Regions from separate parts of the Homo sapiens genome. Here all the other regions are linked to region 2. Evidence: promoter capture Hi-C in human tissues and cell types (Jung and others, 2019). All regions are on one chromosome and are shown on one strand. Each heading gives the region's core, a stretch centred on a gene start or on the middle of the fragment in contact. The rest is flanking DNA. Distances are from core to core; before and after follow the strand shown. Region 1 holds the start of LOC105372035 (a long non-coding RNA gene). Region 2 holds the start of AQP4 (aquaporin 4). Region 3 has its middle 60 kb from the start of AQP4-AS1.

Evidence for each region. Contacts are between HindIII fragments. The study calls those that stand out against the background at their distance.
Region 1: a contact is called between a fragment that was not itself captured here and the fragment with the promoter of AQP4 in region 2, in 2 of the 25 tissues and cell types used here (adrenal gland and psoas muscle).
Region 3: a fragment that was not itself captured here is called in contact with the fragment with the promoter of AQP4 in region 2 in 1 of the 25 tissues and cell types used here (dorsolateral prefrontal cortex).

What each region holds. Positions count from the first base shown.
Region 1 is chr18:26,822,566-26,825,623 of GRCh38, forward strand. LOC105372035 (a long non-coding RNA gene) reads right to left here and starts at 2,587. Exons shown (of 3, transcript NR_188008.1): 1 at 2,403-2,587; 2 at 954-1,835. The HindIII fragment of the contact is 3,839 bases long and covers 1-3,058 here.
Region 2 is chr18:26,864,132-26,867,121 of GRCh38, forward strand. It overlaps AQP4 (aquaporin 4), which reads right to left and starts at 1,576. Exons shown (of 5, transcript NM_001650.7): 1 at 1,527-1,576. The coding sequence starts at 1,558. It overlaps AQP4-AS1 (AQP4 antisense RNA 1), which reads left to right and starts at 1,177. Exons shown (of 8, transcript NR_026908.1): 1 at 1,177-1,229. The HindIII fragment of the contact is 8,928 bases long and covers 1-2,990 here.
Region 3 is chr18:26,803,642-26,807,046 of GRCh38, forward strand. No RefSeq gene overlaps it. Among named protein-coding and RNA genes, the nearest start is that of AQP4-AS1, 60 kb to the right of the region's middle. The HindIII fragment of the contact is 4,775 bases long and covers 1-3,405 here.

The sequences.
Region 1 (3,058 bases), core at 548-3,047, 41 kb before region 2:
ACAGATTCTCTGCATGACAAGAGTGAAGCATGTTGCTATGTTTTGTTTTCCAGAATCTAAGATATAATAAATTACACCCAAGCAATAATCAGTGTTCCCGATCCTGTCTGTGATTTGCCTTTATTGTTTTCCAAGAGGAAGCCTCACACATGCAAAGCCATATGCTCTATCACTTTTCAAGTTGTGGTGTCTCATCTGGGAGTGATTTGAGCCCCTGCCCCTCAACATTTCTTTTATGACTCCAAGATTAAAAGACCATATTCAATCTTATTTTTATTATATCTTTTTGGGGAGGCACAAAAGCAGTAACTCTTAGCAGAGGAGGAACTTGTATGCCATCTGACCTAGAAACAGATGCTACTGATTGGGAAGATCACAAGCAAGGATATACACAGTCTTTCTGTATCTTTCAAAGTAAAGATGGCCCTGACAATAGAAAAGGAGAAACTACCTCAGTACCATCCCAAAATATCATTTCATGTGTAATAAAATGCAATTATTCTTCTTTGACCAAAATAAAACCCTTAGTGGATCACCCAATCAAAAAAGTCAGTTAACGTACAGAAGCGTAAAAATAGCTTACACAAATCTTATGTGCTGTGGCTCATGCCTGTAATCCCAACATTTTGGGAGGCCAAGGCGGGTGGATCACTTGAGGTCAGGAGTTCGAGACCAGTCTGACTATCATGTTGAAACCCCATCTCTACTAAAAATACAAAAAAATTAGCCAGGCATGGTGGCAGGCACCGGTAATCCCAGCTGCTTGGGAGACTGAGACAGGAGAATCACTTGAACCCGGGAGGCAGAGGTGGCAGTAAGCCGAGATCGTGCCACTGCACTCCAGCCTGAGCTACAGAGCAAGACTCCATCTCAAAATAAATAAATAAATAAATAAATAAATAAATAAATAAATAAATAAATAGAAACCCATAATTATACACCAATTCACCAACCTTGTGAAGCAGGAAATGACCTTGTTCTTGAGTTTGGTTCTTCTGATTAATGTTCTTCATTGGCTCTCACAGACAAGTGACACCTACACAGCATCATTGGCCATGTGAAGCTTCAGTTTCTTAGGTGAAGGAGGAACTTACAGAAACTTACAAAGCAATCTAAGACCACTATTCTTCCCATTTTTAAATGATCTGATTTCCTTCCTCAATCTTTTATGGTTGTCTTGGTCAAACTTAAGATGACAGTATTTATTTTTAAGGTGACCTGACTTTATTGTCTCTTTTCAATGCATTTGATTTGGTTTTTGTAGAGGAAGTAGATCTTTTGTTCTTCATATCCATAATAATTGCTTTTAATAATATTTAATGAGACTGCATAATGACAGTAATAAGTACAACTGGAATGACTGGATTTAGAAATAGAAATCTTCACATGTTGCTAGGCATACAAGGCAGGGTCTGGGACAGAATTGTATGGATATACAGCACTAGCGAGTGGCCTAGCAGTTGTGAGAATTTGGTATTCCATGGGTACCAAACAGCAGGTTTTATAGAAGGCAGTGAGAGCTCCAACAAATCTTTCCTACTTGATTAAAGGCTGGTAAAGAGACAGTTTTTGAGTTATTATCATCAAGTATGTAGGTTCTGGTAGGTCAACAGCTGTATCAACATACAGAATGGCAGCCCTTGGATAATGCCCCGTGTCTTTAAGCAAATGTAGTTTAAAATCCCTTAAAATCCGGTGTTGTTTTACAGATCCAATGAATCTATTCACGCAATAGAAATGTATAAATCAACAAAATCTGCTTATTAAAACACTTTTGAGTAGATGGTATCTCACATTATGTAGCTCTTTCACGTTTATTTTTCTGTTCTTTTTTCCTAAAAGAGATATGCATTATAAGCAATGGGAAATAGCTATATTCAACAATAGTAAAAAACCCTCAATGTAATTTAATGTTGGAAATCAGTACTGTATGTCCTGGATTGAATTGAGAGGTGGAGATGAAGACTTTTGTTGCCCTAGGTACACTGGAAAATGTTGTGATGCCTGCAAGCCTGAAGTCAGCCAAAGGGTATCCAGTCACTACACGTTTTCATTGCTCCTAATACTCTTTGGCTCTAGGCTACTGCCTCTTTTGCCTAATGATAGGGCTAACCTTGACCAGGAGCCCTCTGAACCTTTCCCAAGGGGTTCCTCGGTGCTTATTCACCCTTTGACATCAACCTTCAGAGTATATGAAATAGAAATCTTAATGAAAGAAGGGAGGGCTGAGATTTTCCTGCGTGCTCATCTGGCTAAACTCCTAGCATTTTATGTTTATACTTGATTTTTAAGTCATCCTGAACTCTATTTGCAGCTCTGCTCTCTTTTATCTTTTCTTGTCATCACAACCTTTACTACAAAGCTTATTTCAAGGGAAAACTGTTAGAATTCAAATCACTTACTCCTGTTTCACGCTCGTCTGTTTGTTTGGGATTCCAGCTGACAAGATGTCCTTCAAATGATTGCTTTTAGTAAAATCAAAGTGACTTGAGGACCAAAAATTTTGATAACTGAATATGTGTTTTAGACTACTTCAGGGGTTTCTCTCGCAACTTGGCTGGATAAGTGTGAAAACAGAATTGTTAGTGATGAAGAGGGCTGAGGCCTGTATTCTAGATTGTTTGCAGAATTCTAAATCACTACCAGGAAAGGGCTCAGAGAAAGCCGTCACTTTGTGAGACCTCAGAAGCAACCTGGAGCCAGGTCTGTGGTTGAAGAATGTTTCCAAACTGGGGTGATGGCTATGGCTATTTTTTTTTGTTGTTGTTGTTATTGTTGTCAGATGCCTCAGGGCGCCAACAAATGAGAGTGGGTTGTTGTCCTTAGAGGGTGTTTTTTTTTTTCTCTTCAATTTCTTACTTTGGGGAAAACTCTGGAAATGCTGTGTGTTTTTGGAGATTTCCAGGGGTTATTGTAGGAAGGGTAGAAGACTCCCCCATCCACACTGGGGTGACCCTCTGGGAAGGGTAGAAGACTCCCCCATCCGCACTGGGATGACCCTCTGGGTGCCACCGACTTCCCTGTCTGCAGACCCTCGGAAGCTGCTGTTCCGGCTCTA
Region 2 (2,990 bases), core at 326-2,825:
GTTAGGCAAGAAAGCCAAGTACTTTAAGAGATTAGTATTATTGTGGCTTTCCCTTTGACAAATTGCGGGGCCCTCATTTCCCCATGTCACTGAATGTTCCCGGGAACCTGCTTTCTGCGTGGGTAGTGAGGAAATGCAGTGCCAAAAAGGGTGAGGGGAATTTCCAGCTCAGCCTAGCCCTTAGTTTGCTATGGGGCTTTGCTTTAGAGGTGGAGAGAGAAAAACCCTTTCTTGCCCAGGCCCGGGTGGCAGGATAAAGGAAGAGCTGGCTCCACAGGGGGGTGGCCAGCCACATCCCACGCATCCCCTGCCCCAGTGAAGCGAATCTCAGAAGTATGAAAAACCCCAGGTGGGATGACAACGACATCATACTCTCTAGAGGAAAAGAATGTAAAGAGACAAAAACGATGGTTGCAATGGGGCAGGGAGGGCACCCTGGAGGAGACACTAAAAATATTCCCAAAGACGGTAAACTCAGAAAAGTCACATATTGAAGAAGTTAGGAGAGTCACTTCTGAACTCACCGGCAGCCCAGGGCTGTAGCCGGGATGGCAAAGGGGGCAAAATGCGATCATAGGTGCTGTCGTTTGTGGTCAGGGTTAGGGGAGAAGGAGGAGGACAAAACAGTAGGCTAAGGAAGCTAGGTGGGCAGGAAACGTCCTTTTCAGCCCCGCAGGAGACACCAGAAGAGGTGGGACCCAGAAAAGGCCAGCCCCGCTGCTCACCCCCTTCACCTCTCACTTCTGCCATTTCCGGAGTTCTCTCCCTGCTTGGCCTGTCATGCACCTGTTTACCTCTCCAGAGGTAGTTGCTCTTTCAGCTTCAAATATTCATCAACCAGAGAAATTTAAAACAGTGCAAAACACCAACACAAAACATAAACATGCTCTTTAAGAATGTTTTTAGCTTTTTTTTTTTTTTAAATCCACAAAAATCTGATCTTCTTCCAAGGCAGATGGACCAGCCTCACTTGGCTGTGAACCGTGAAGTTTGCTGGCAGCATATACATATCTCTGGCCTTATGAGGGCTCACCCTAGCGTCACCCATAGCACCCTGCTTTTATTGTCAGTGTTCCCTTATATGTTCACAGTCACTGGAAATGATCAACACAATTAGATTTGCTTCTTTTGCCCCAGAACAAAGCGGGTTTGTTGATGTACTGAATCGGACACATTACTTTCTAGCTGAACACTCAGCTTCATCCACTCCAGGACAGCTGAGCGTCTGGGTGAGTAATTTTTCCGAAGAAATGTACTATAGCTAGATTCACCTCCATAGGGTAATTTTCCTGGGCTTTTGCAGATCTGAAACATATGGAGGATTTGGCTAAAAAGCATCCCTTTTCTTCTACCTTCTCTATGCCTCTCTTCTGAAAATGCCCAGTACTCAGATCTAAAAGAACCACCCACCTGCCCTATAGCTGCCTTCCAGATTCTGCCTAAGAAGGCACAAACATCTATAATAAAAGAGACAGTTTCATCTTTTGGCCCTAAGCGTTGTTCCCTTAAGGCAAAGAAGGACTTACCCCCACCGCCTTGCTGTGGGTCTGTCACTCATGCCTTCCCCAGCCAGAGTGCAGCTCTCATTGCCTGCCCCGCAGCTCCCTGTGTGCTGGGAGTCAGATTACGGCCACTTGTCTGATTGGGTTTTTGGAGTGTTAGGGGTGGAAAGATTCTGCACCATGTGGCAATCGCTAAGTTATATTTGAACTTGAAGTAGCTTTTCTGTACCTGATCACTGTAGACACAGGGCATTTCAGGAATGCAAAAACATTTACTTAATTTTTTTTTTTTTGAGACAGTAATTTTTGAAAATGAGGATTTCCTTAAATCTTTATTTGAATTCTTTCTACCATGAAGAATTGTTCAGAATTTGTCTTGTTTGGTTATATGTTGTAGTTGAAATTGGGCAATTATTAGAAAATGAATTTGTATAATCCAGCAGTTAACATGAATTTAGATAGAGACTTCAGTGCATTTAGTTTTTAGCCAATGAATTCTGTTTGAAGTTTTTGATCTGAGAAGAAGCATTATAAGAACAATATATAACTGCAGCTCCATTTATAGCACAGGCAGCACTGATTTGGACAATAAAAATAAGGAAACATAGGAAATACAGGAAAAAAGACTGCTCTAGGGTGCTCACCTGACTGTTACATTAATAATCTGGGGATAAGAAGTAGCAAACTTAAAAAATATCAAAGTTGGATGGGGACGAAATTATGGGGAACTGTAGGTAAATTTAACCTCTGGAAACTTAGGGACAGGACTGATTTTATAATTTACTGGTCCCAGTGCAAAATGAATGCAGGACACCTTGGTAAAACACTATTTAAATTTCAAGATTGCGACAGCAGAGCATAAATAAAGGCTGGGTGCTCCTAAAGGCAGGACCTTGTGCAGCTGCGCAGGCTGCATGCTTATGAAGACGTCCCTGCCGAAGGAGTTTGGTGAACTCTAGAAGGGTCTAACCATTAGCTACCTGCATCACCATCTCATTATTATTTTTTCTTTAAACAGATCTTAGGTGCATGGGATTGGAATAATCAGAATTCCTGATTTATGACACTCTGTCATCACTCGTGCATGTATGGCCCTCTTATTTTCTAATAGTTAATTATAATGGCTTTTAAATAATGTAATGAACATCTATGAACCCACCACTCAACCCAACATCTAGAACAATGATAATAACTCACATTACCTACGGATGCCTCCCTTTTCCCACTTTATATTTCAGATTGGATTATTTTTTTCCAGAATGAAGTATGACAAGAAAGAAATACATGAGAGAAGAAAGACTGTTATACTTTTAAATCCCAGTTACAGTTTTTTTGTTTTGTTTTCATTTGCGTACTTGAGACATGGGAATGGGTGAAGAGCTCTCATTAGAAAGAGGAATTCAAAATTTGAGTGTGACTTTCAGAGGAGCACTTTATTACTGTTTCAAGCATTCTCAGCTAACCAAGATTGAATTTAGATTCTTAAGA
Region 3 (3,405 bases), core at 440-2,939, 60 kb before region 2:
TTTATTGTATATATCTAAGATGTACAACATGATGTTTTGATATACATATACATAGTGAAATGATCACTACAGTCAAGCAGATTAAAATATCCCCCAAACCAAAATTTTTACACACACATACACATCTAATGTAAAAAAAAAAATCCAGGATGGCTCATGCAGAAATCATTTACTTTTAGCACCTGCCAAGGGGTGGAGCTGCAGAACCACAGACTACCAGGAGACTGCTTTTTCTGTCCCATCAGAACAGTATTTTTTTTTTTCAAATGATTTAGGAAGACCCACCTTCCATTACTTTTCCTGATGAAGTGTGATATTGGGTTTTTAGCCCTTTGTTTTCTCTGGTAATTTTACCCTGATTCCAAATGTGGTGTAAATTCCTTAACAATTCACCTCTTTGATGTAAGATCTGGGTAGAGAGAGCATACTTGGGGGCGCAGCCTTCAAATAACACATCTTGATGAGACGTGTGCATAAAATGCAAAGAAGAAATAAGTGGCCAGAGAAAATGATGGTGCAGAAAATGTGTTTCTTAAAGAAGGGTTGTTAATTTTAATGTTTGGTTCTAAAACTCTTTGCTGCACCCCCATTTAACAGCTAAAACATAGGACTCAGGGAGAAAATGAAGGTGTCGGGAAATTTAGGCTGAAATTCCTGGGTTGGAAGGAGCACAGTAAATGAAGCCCAGCCTTTTTCGTGTTTTATATTCATTAAGCATAGCAATGTACTGATAACGTTTTTTAAGCTGTCATTACATCTAGTTGATATTTAATCTGAATTTTAATATTTAAAAGGATACTCAGGATCTTCATTAGAGCCATAAAAAATTCAAGCAGGGCTACTGTTTGGAACTGTAACAAAGCAATTTATACTCCTATCATTTCACTTAAATTAGAGTGAGGAAAGAAATTTAGATTTTTTGAAAAGTGCAATCAGCCTCTTAAATAAAAAAGCAACTGGTGTCACCATTAGGTGGCAGGCACACTGCAGCCAGCTGTCACTTAGGCTGGGTGGAAGCGAGCCTGGACACCAAGGCAGAAATTCCTGGTCCCTTTCCTGGATCTTTCTTTCAGTCATTTAAGCTTGCAGAAGACAATGTGCATGGAAACCAGCAGCAGGCATTTTAATGCACCTTTGACACTGTTTCAACATTTGGTCTTCAGCTGCATGGACTGCTCATTCAGCTTCTCTTTGCCCTCCTGTGGTGTCTGAGCTGGCTAGCCCCTGCTGCTTTAGTTCTTTCAGCTGTAGGATTTTCATCACATGTGCATGTCAGAATCTGCACTGGGTTTGGACTGAAGACTCTGTCTTTTGTATTCGCTCCATTTCCAGTGGGTCAGGAGAATTAGTGTAATGGGCTGGTGTGTTTTATAACAAATGCCATTCTAGAATTCCATCCTTGTCGTCTAATGTTTGGGCAAAAAGTAGAAAAGAATAGCTAAAAAATGAAATCATGGTAATTGCTAGGACTCTCAGCATCTGCTAATGTAATACTTTTCCTTTAATTATGTCCCATAATATGTAACCTTTACTTTCTCAGGTCACACCGGCTAGAGGGACAAATTGCAAAGTGCAGTTTACAATCATAAGGGTGGCAATAACAGTCTTTGGTTTCAGATCCTCCACCCAGCAGAATCTAAGGGCGAAGTCCCTGAATTCCCCATCCTACTCCTGACAGTTTTTGGCAGCACAGGCTCTTCTCCTTGGAGGCCATTACAGTTTCTTTTTATTATACCTGGCACTATTCACTCTGATTTCTCACCCAAAGAAGAGACACCTGTGCTGCCCACGCTGGCCCTGCCTCTCCTGCTGTTATTAATATTTTGTTGAGCCCATCACTCCTATGGCAAAAGGTACTCTTGCTGGGCTCCCAGCAAGAGGCTGACCTTGGATTTTTAGTATTTTATAGTTCTCCGACTCTAGGAATTTGGAATGCATTCCCCTGAAGCTGGATTGGAGAAGATTTAAGTAGCAGCACCAATGATCAAATCCAGAAATGTTCCTTTCCACCAACAGGCAAATTATACTCCAGAATAAAGCCCTGGACTCTTGAATCATGACCTATTCTTCCTCTAGCGGTACAGCTTGGGTTCAGATATTGGACTTTCCGCTTCGTAGGAGTGTGGCCTTGGATAAGGTAACTTCTCTCTGCCTCAGTTTTCTCATATGTAATATAAGGGCAATCACAGGATCAACTTCCTAGAGTTGCTGTGAGGATTAGATGAGTTAATGCATGTAATGGGCTGATAGTGCCTGGCTCATAGCAAGCACATAACCAATGTCAGCTATTAGTATTATTAAAAAATTTTGATCTATGTATTCCGGGGACTGACCACTAGTTTCTATTTTTTCCAAAGAGGTAATTGAGATTTCATGCCCAGGGTCTCTGATGTTTTGCCCCAGTATACCAGAATGCTAGAATAATGAGGGCAGCTTTAGGTTGCTATCTCTACCCTCTCACCCCTCACTCTGGAAAGTTCCATGAAATAAACATGTTTTTAAAAAAAGTTCTGATATGAAAATTACGATTGATCTGATGCCAAGACTGGCAAGTAAGAGTAAAGCCCTCAGAGTTTGCTTTGTATTTGGCAGTCTAGTTAGACATTAATGTATTTATATTTTAGCCATCAATCTCCCTTTCTCCTTAAAAGTACTTCAAGTTTCTTTTGGGGAAACTACCTTCCTTCCTTCTCAGCCCTGTGTGATTGGGTAAGATTGAACCTACCCTGGTTCCAGAGTGGCCCCTGATTGGCCAATGTCAGGACCATCCCATCTGCTCTGGCCCTGTGATTGGCTCATTGAAGGATCTGTAACAAATCAGGACCATAGAGACTTGAGGAGCTATTTGCTGGGGTTTCTGGGTAAGGAAAATGTAGCACTTCTTCCAAACGCTATAGGAAGAGACTCCTCCCTTCCTCTGCCTGAAGAAGCCTGAGAATGTGAGATCTGGAGTGAGGCAGCTTTAGGAGCAAGTCAGCCCAACGGCGAGAGATGGAACTTAGCCCTGGGCAATATCTTTCCAGTTGCTGGATCCAAACTCACCGCATCTTCCTCCAGCCTTCTCAGCTACGATTCAACAAATATCCTTTATTAATTTAGTCCGAGTTGAGGGTTTTTGAGTGTGTGTGTGTGTGTCACTTGCAGCATAAATGGTGTGTCCCTACTGAAACGCTGCATTACAGTTAAAACATTCCTATGGCAAACAGAAACCCTTCATGATTTCAGAAGATAAAACTTGTAAACTATTCTTGCTATCTCATTTGGATGTAGACGTCTAAAATGTTGAAAAATTTCAAAGCTTTGGGTACTTACATATGACCTCCCTTGATGTACAAACCCAGAGTGGAATCATCTGTTAAATTGAATTTCCAGAAAGGGGTTCCATCTATCAATTAGGAAATGGCC